2 separate regions of the Homo sapiens genome follow, and region 1 is linked to region 2. The links are contacts of gene promoters, found by promoter capture Hi-C in human tissues and cell types (Jung and others, 2019). All regions are on one chromosome and are shown on one strand. The core of a region is centred on a gene start or on the middle of the fragment in contact, and the rest is flanking DNA. Distances in the headings are between cores, read along the strand shown. Region 1 overlaps DHX37 (DEAH-box helicase 37). Region 2 holds the start of UBC (ubiquitin C).

Region 1 (2,700 bases), core at 144-2,643, 52 kb before region 2:
ATGGTGGAGCTTGCCATCTGTCCCCATCTGATAAGCAGAAAAACCCACAGGGCCCAGGCCAGTGCTGGCAGGTGACCATAGACACTGTAGGGGAACGGGCACATCCCCCCAAGAGTCACGGATACCCTTCACAGTTCTGCCTTGTCCCCATCATACCTGCTCCGTTACCCACCTCATGTTACTGAAATGGATGTGACCTTTCTGTGTGAATAGATTGTGATCGCTTCCAGCCAGACTTTTTTTTTTTGAGACGGAGTTTTACTCTTGTTGCCCAGGCTGGAGTGCAGTGGCAGATCTTGGCTCACTGCAACCTCCACCTCCCGGGTTCAAGTGATTCTCCTGCCTCAGCCTCCCAAGTAGCTGGGATTACAGGTCCCACACTGGTCGCACACTGCCACGCCTGGCTAATTTTTTGTATTTTAGTAGAGATGGGGTTTCATCATGTTGGCCGGGCTGGTCTCGAACTCCTGACCTCAGGTGAGCTGCCTGCCTCAGCCTCCCAAAGTGCTGGAATTACAAGTGTGAGCCACTGCACCCAGCCTAGCCAGAGACTCTTGTGTGCCGAATTTGGGCCCAAGGCTGGCTTTCTTCATGTTAGGGAGGCAAGGAGCCATGGGGGTGCTTCCCAACAAGCTTGACCTCGTCCTTCAAGGAAGCCGAGGTTGCTGCTTCGTGATGCTCTGTCCTTGCTCTGCTTATGGCCTTTCGGGGCTCCCATCCATTCTCTGGGAGACTGGGGCTGGCAGGAGGTGAGGCTGGAGCTTGGGCAGTGAGCCTTCCTGCAGCCTCAGGTCTCAGGGCAGCCGCGGCGCTGTCACTGTCGTGAGTGTGGTGTGCAGGGTTCCGTGTGAGCACGCTTCTCAGGGCTTTTGGGTCTGTTCCTGGGAGTGATGCTGCTGGGCTGTGCAGTCGCCGTGTTTGTTGAACTCCCTGGCGGCAGCTGCTTCAGTCTGGGCGTGCTGCCCCCTGCTCATCTATGTCTGTGTACTCCTGTCCTCCCCCATTATCCCTGGAACCTTGCCTCTCAGAGCATGGCTTGGCAGGTGCTTTTGCTAAGCAAATGTTTGTGAGTGACTGATGGATAACAGAGGGGCCCATTCTTTCCACAGGTGGCATCCTGGTGTTCCTGACGGGGCAGGCTGAGGTGCATGCGCTGTGCCGCAGGCTCAGGAAGGCTTTCCCACCCTCCAGAGCCCGGCCACAAGGTAAAGAGGACGCCCCGACCAGCACTCTGCCCTGAGCAGCTGGGCTTGGCCTCGCGCTCCCTGGCTGGGGTGCAGCTCCTGCCTCTGAGCTTCTCTCTGGAAGCATCAGCACCTTTGCCATCCCCCACCTCACCCCCGAATAAATGGCCACCACTGAGTGGCCATGCCTTGAACAACAAAGGGCAGTGTGCTGGCGACCACGCCGGCCACAGACGCCTTTCTCCCCAACCTGCCCCTCTCCCAGAAAAGGACGACGATCAGAAAGACTCGGTGGAGGAAATGCGGAAGTTTAAGAAGTCAAGGGCCAGGGCCAAGAAGGCGCGGGCTGAGGTACGTGGGGGGCTGGCAGGGACTCCTGGAGAGTAAGGCTGCGTTGTCCAGGATGGCAGCTACCAGCCCCATGTGGCTGCTTAGGTTTAAGTGTAATTGGAATAAAATGAAGTTAAAAATCCAGTTCCTGGTCAGGCACAGTGGCTCATGCCTGTAATTCCAGCACTTTGGGAGGCCAAGGTGGGAGGATCGCTTGAGGCCTAGAGTTTGAGACCAGCTTGGGCAACATGGTGAGACCATGTCTCTACAAAAAATTTTTTAGATTAATCCAGTGCAGTGGCGCATGCCTGTGGTCCCAGCTGCTCAGAGGCTGAGGTGGGAGAACCATCTGAGCCCAGGAGGTCAAGGCTGCAATGAGCTGTGATGGTCCCACTGCACTCTAGCCTGGGCAACAGAGTGAGACTCTGTCTCAGAAATGGAAAAGAAGGCCAGGCGTGGTGGCTACGCCTGTAATCCCAGCACTTTGGGAGACTGAGGCAGGTGGATCACCTGAGGTCAGGAGTTCAAGTCCAACCTGACCAACATGGCGAAACCCTGTCTCTACTAAAAATACAAAATTAGCCAGGCATGGTGGTGTGCACCTGTACTCCCAGCTACTCTGGGATGGCTGGGCTGGCAGGGGCTTTCCTCTAGCCTCTGCGTGAAGGCACCGTGGGTCTTGTGCTCCGTGACGGTAGCGTAAGCACTCAGCCGTCTCTGACTTGCCTGTTGCACTACCGATGTGTCAGGCAGCGATCCAGGTTCCTCACGTGTGTTCACACAACCCTCCCACCAGCCTGGGAGACAAGGTCTATGATAGTCCCCAATGTTTAGGTGGGGAAATTCTGGCAGGAAGAGAGAATTATGTGGCCTGCCCCGGGTTGCATGGCCCATGGGTGTGGACCGGGGCTTCCATGCGAGGGCACCTGTCTTCCTGCACGTGCCACGTCCTCACACCCAGGATCCCTGCAGCCCAGGTGTCTATGTCTTGTTCGCCGTAGGTGCTGCCCCAGATCAACTTGGATCATTACTCGGTGTTACCGGCAGGCGAAGGCGATGAGGACAGGGAGGCAGAAGTGGATGAGGAAGAGGGGGCCCTGGACTCCGACCTCGATCTGGACCTGGGGGATGGCGGGCAAGATGGAGGTGTGGCCCGAGCACCGATTCCTGCTCATGTTCATTATCT
Region 2 (2,700 bases), core at 201-2,700:
TGTTCATAACTTAAAACAAGAATGCAGCCTTTTCCTAATGGCAAAATATTTTTCAGTTGGTAGCCTCTTTTTCTCTTTTTTTTGAAGCTTTTAAGGGTAGAAATCAAAATAGCCTCCCTACCTCCAATACATTTGTAGAAACAGGGACTATTTGTAGAAGAGTCCAGAAGGAACAGTGGCTGGGAAATTGAGGGCATGAGGGAGACTTTTCACTGTACACTTTAAAAAGACACATTTAAAAAATCTCACCATGTTCGTATATTTTAAAACATTTAAAAAATATACTGAAGAAATGACACGTAGGGATCACAAAATAGGTTGTGGTAAAAATTTAAAAAGCTGGCTGGTGATGCTTTTCTCCCCACTTCTTTTACCAAAATAGAATTGCCCTGTAGAATTACATTTCATATTTGACACCCTACCCTGCACTGAAATAAGGTTGGGATTCTATTCCTGTCTTTTAAAATCTCCGGTTTAAATGGGTCCGATTATTGAATGGATCCTGCTTACAATAATCGTACCCATTGAAACCAGAGAAATTTCCATGCCTCCCTGTTGGCATCAAGTAGGACCTTTCCATACCTGGCCCTCAGAATGTACAGGAAGGTGGAAGAACAGTCTAGAAGGATGTCGTTCGCTCAGCCTTGCGTTCCAGCTAAAATAAAACTGTGTGGGGTTTCCGCCTCTTTTTTCCAAATTTAACCTGGACACCCAGCTCCTCTGCAGTGTCTCCCCTGGAAAGTTCTCGAGCGTTCCCCAGCTTTAGGGCCACGCCCGCCCTGAGATCTGCCGAGTCATTGTCCTTGTCCCGCGGCCCCGGGAGCCCCCCGCGACCGGCCTGGGAGGCTCAGGGAGGTTGAAGGGGGCTGAGCAAAGGAAGCCCCGTCATTACCTCAAATGTGACCCAAAAATAAAGACCCGTCCATCTCGCAGGGTGGGCCAGGGCGGGTCAGGAGGGAGGGGAGGGAGACCCCGACTCTGCAGAAGGCGCTCGCTGCGTGCCCCACGTCCGCCGAACGCGGGGTTCGCGACCCGAGGGGACCGCGGGGGCTGAGGGGAGGGGCCGCGGAGCCGCGGCTAAGGAACGCGGGCCGCCCACCCGCTCCCGGTGCAGCGGCCTCCGCGCCGGGTTTTGGCGCCTCCCGCGGGCGCCCCCCTCCTCACGGCGAGCGCTGCCACGTCAGACGAAGGGCGCAGCGAGCGTCCTGATCCTTCCGCCCGGACGCTCAGGACAGCGGCCCGCTGCTCATAAGACTCGGCCTTAGAACCCCAGTATCAGCAGAAGGACATTTTAGGACGGGACTTGGGTGACTCTAGGGCACTGGTTTTCTTTCCAGAGAGCGGAACAGGCGAGGAAAAGTAGTCCCTTCTCGGCGATTCTGCGGAGGGATCTCCGTGGGGCGGTGAACGCCGATGATTATATAAGGACGCGCCGGGTGTGGCACAGCTAGTTCCGTCGCAGCCGGGATTTGGGTCGCAGTTCTTGTTTGTGGATCGCTGTGATCGTCACTTGGTGAGTAGCGGGCTGCTGGGCTGGCCGGGGCTTTCGTGGCCGCCGGGCCGCTCGGTGGGACGGAGGCGTGTGGAGAGACCGCCAAGGGCTGTAGTCTGGGTCCGCGAGCAAGGTTGCCCTGAACTGGGGGTTGGGGGGAGCGCAGCAAAATGGCGGCTGTTCCCGAGTCTTGAATGGAAGACGCTTGTGAGGCGGGCTGTGAGGTCGTTGAAACAAGGTGGGGGGCATGGTGGGCGGCAAGAACCCAAGGTCTTGAGGCCTTCGCTAATGCGGGAAAGCTCTTATTCGGGTGAGATGGGCTGGGGCACCATCTGGGGACCCTGACGTGAAGTTTGTCACTGACTGGAGAACTCGGTTTGTCGTCTGTTGCGGGGGCGGCAGTTATGGCGGTGCCGTTGGGCAGTGCACCCGTACCTTTGGGAGCGCGCGCCCTCGTCGTGTCGTGACGTCACCCGTTCTGTTGGCTTATAATGCAGGGTGGGGCCACCTGCCGGTAGGTGTGCGGTAGGCTTTTCTCCGTCGCAGGACGCAGGGTTCGGGCCTAGGGTAGGCTCTCCTGAATCGACAGGCGCCGGACCTCTGGTGAGGGGAGGGATAAGTGAGGCGTCAGTTTCTCTGGTCGGTTTTATGTACCTATCTTCTTAAGTAGCTGAAGCTCCGGTTTTGAACTATGCGCTCGGGGTTGGCGAGTGTGTTTTGTGAAGTTTTTTAGGCACCTTTTGAAATGTAATCATTTGGGTCAATATGTAATTTTCAGTGTTAGACTAGTAAATTGTCCGCTAAATTCTGGCCGTTTTTGGCTTTTTTGTTAGACAATGCAGATCTTCGTGAAGACTCTGACTGGTAAGACCATCACCCTCGAGGTTGAGCCCAGTGACACCATCGAGAATGTCAAGGCAAAGATCCAAGATAAGGAAGGCATCCCTCCTGACCAGCAGAGGCTGATCTTTGCTGGAAAACAGCTGGAAGATGGGCGCACCCTGTCTGACTACAACATCCAGAAAGAGTCCACCCTGCACCTGGTGCTCCGTCTCAGAGGTGGGATGCAAATCTTCGTGAAGACACTCACTGGCAAGACCATCACCCTTGAGGTCGAGCCCAGTGACACCATCGAGAACGTCAAAGCAAAGATCCAGGACAAGGAAGGCATTCCTCCTGACCAGCAGAGGTTGATCTTTGCCGGAAAG

Evidence for each region. Contacts are between HindIII fragments. The study calls those that stand out against the background at their distance.
Region 1: a fragment that was not itself captured here is called in contact with the fragment with the promoter of UBC in region 2 in 1 of the 25 tissues and cell types used here (IMR-90 fibroblasts).

What each region holds. Positions count from the first base shown.
Region 1 is chr12:124,965,628-124,968,327 of GRCh38, reverse strand. It overlaps DHX37 (DEAH-box helicase 37), which reads left to right. Exons shown (of 27, transcript NM_032656.4): 11 at 1,110-1,205; 12 at 1,450-1,535; 13 at 2,516-2,660. Among named protein-coding and RNA genes, the nearest start is that of DHX37, 22 kb to the left of the region's middle. The HindIII fragment of the contact is 4,237 bases long and covers 1-2,700 here.
Region 2 is chr12:124,913,400-124,916,099 of GRCh38, reverse strand. UBC (ubiquitin C) reads left to right here and starts at 1,450. Exons shown (of 2, transcript NM_021009.7): 1 at 1,450-1,513; 2 at 2,326-2,700. The coding sequence starts at 2,329. MIR5188 (microRNA 5188) reads right to left here and starts at 553; the gene lies at 441-553. RefSeq lists enhancers at 1-97, 1,422-1,871, 1,196-2,153 and a silencer at 872-1,211. The HindIII fragment of the contact is 8,951 bases long and covers 1-2,700 here.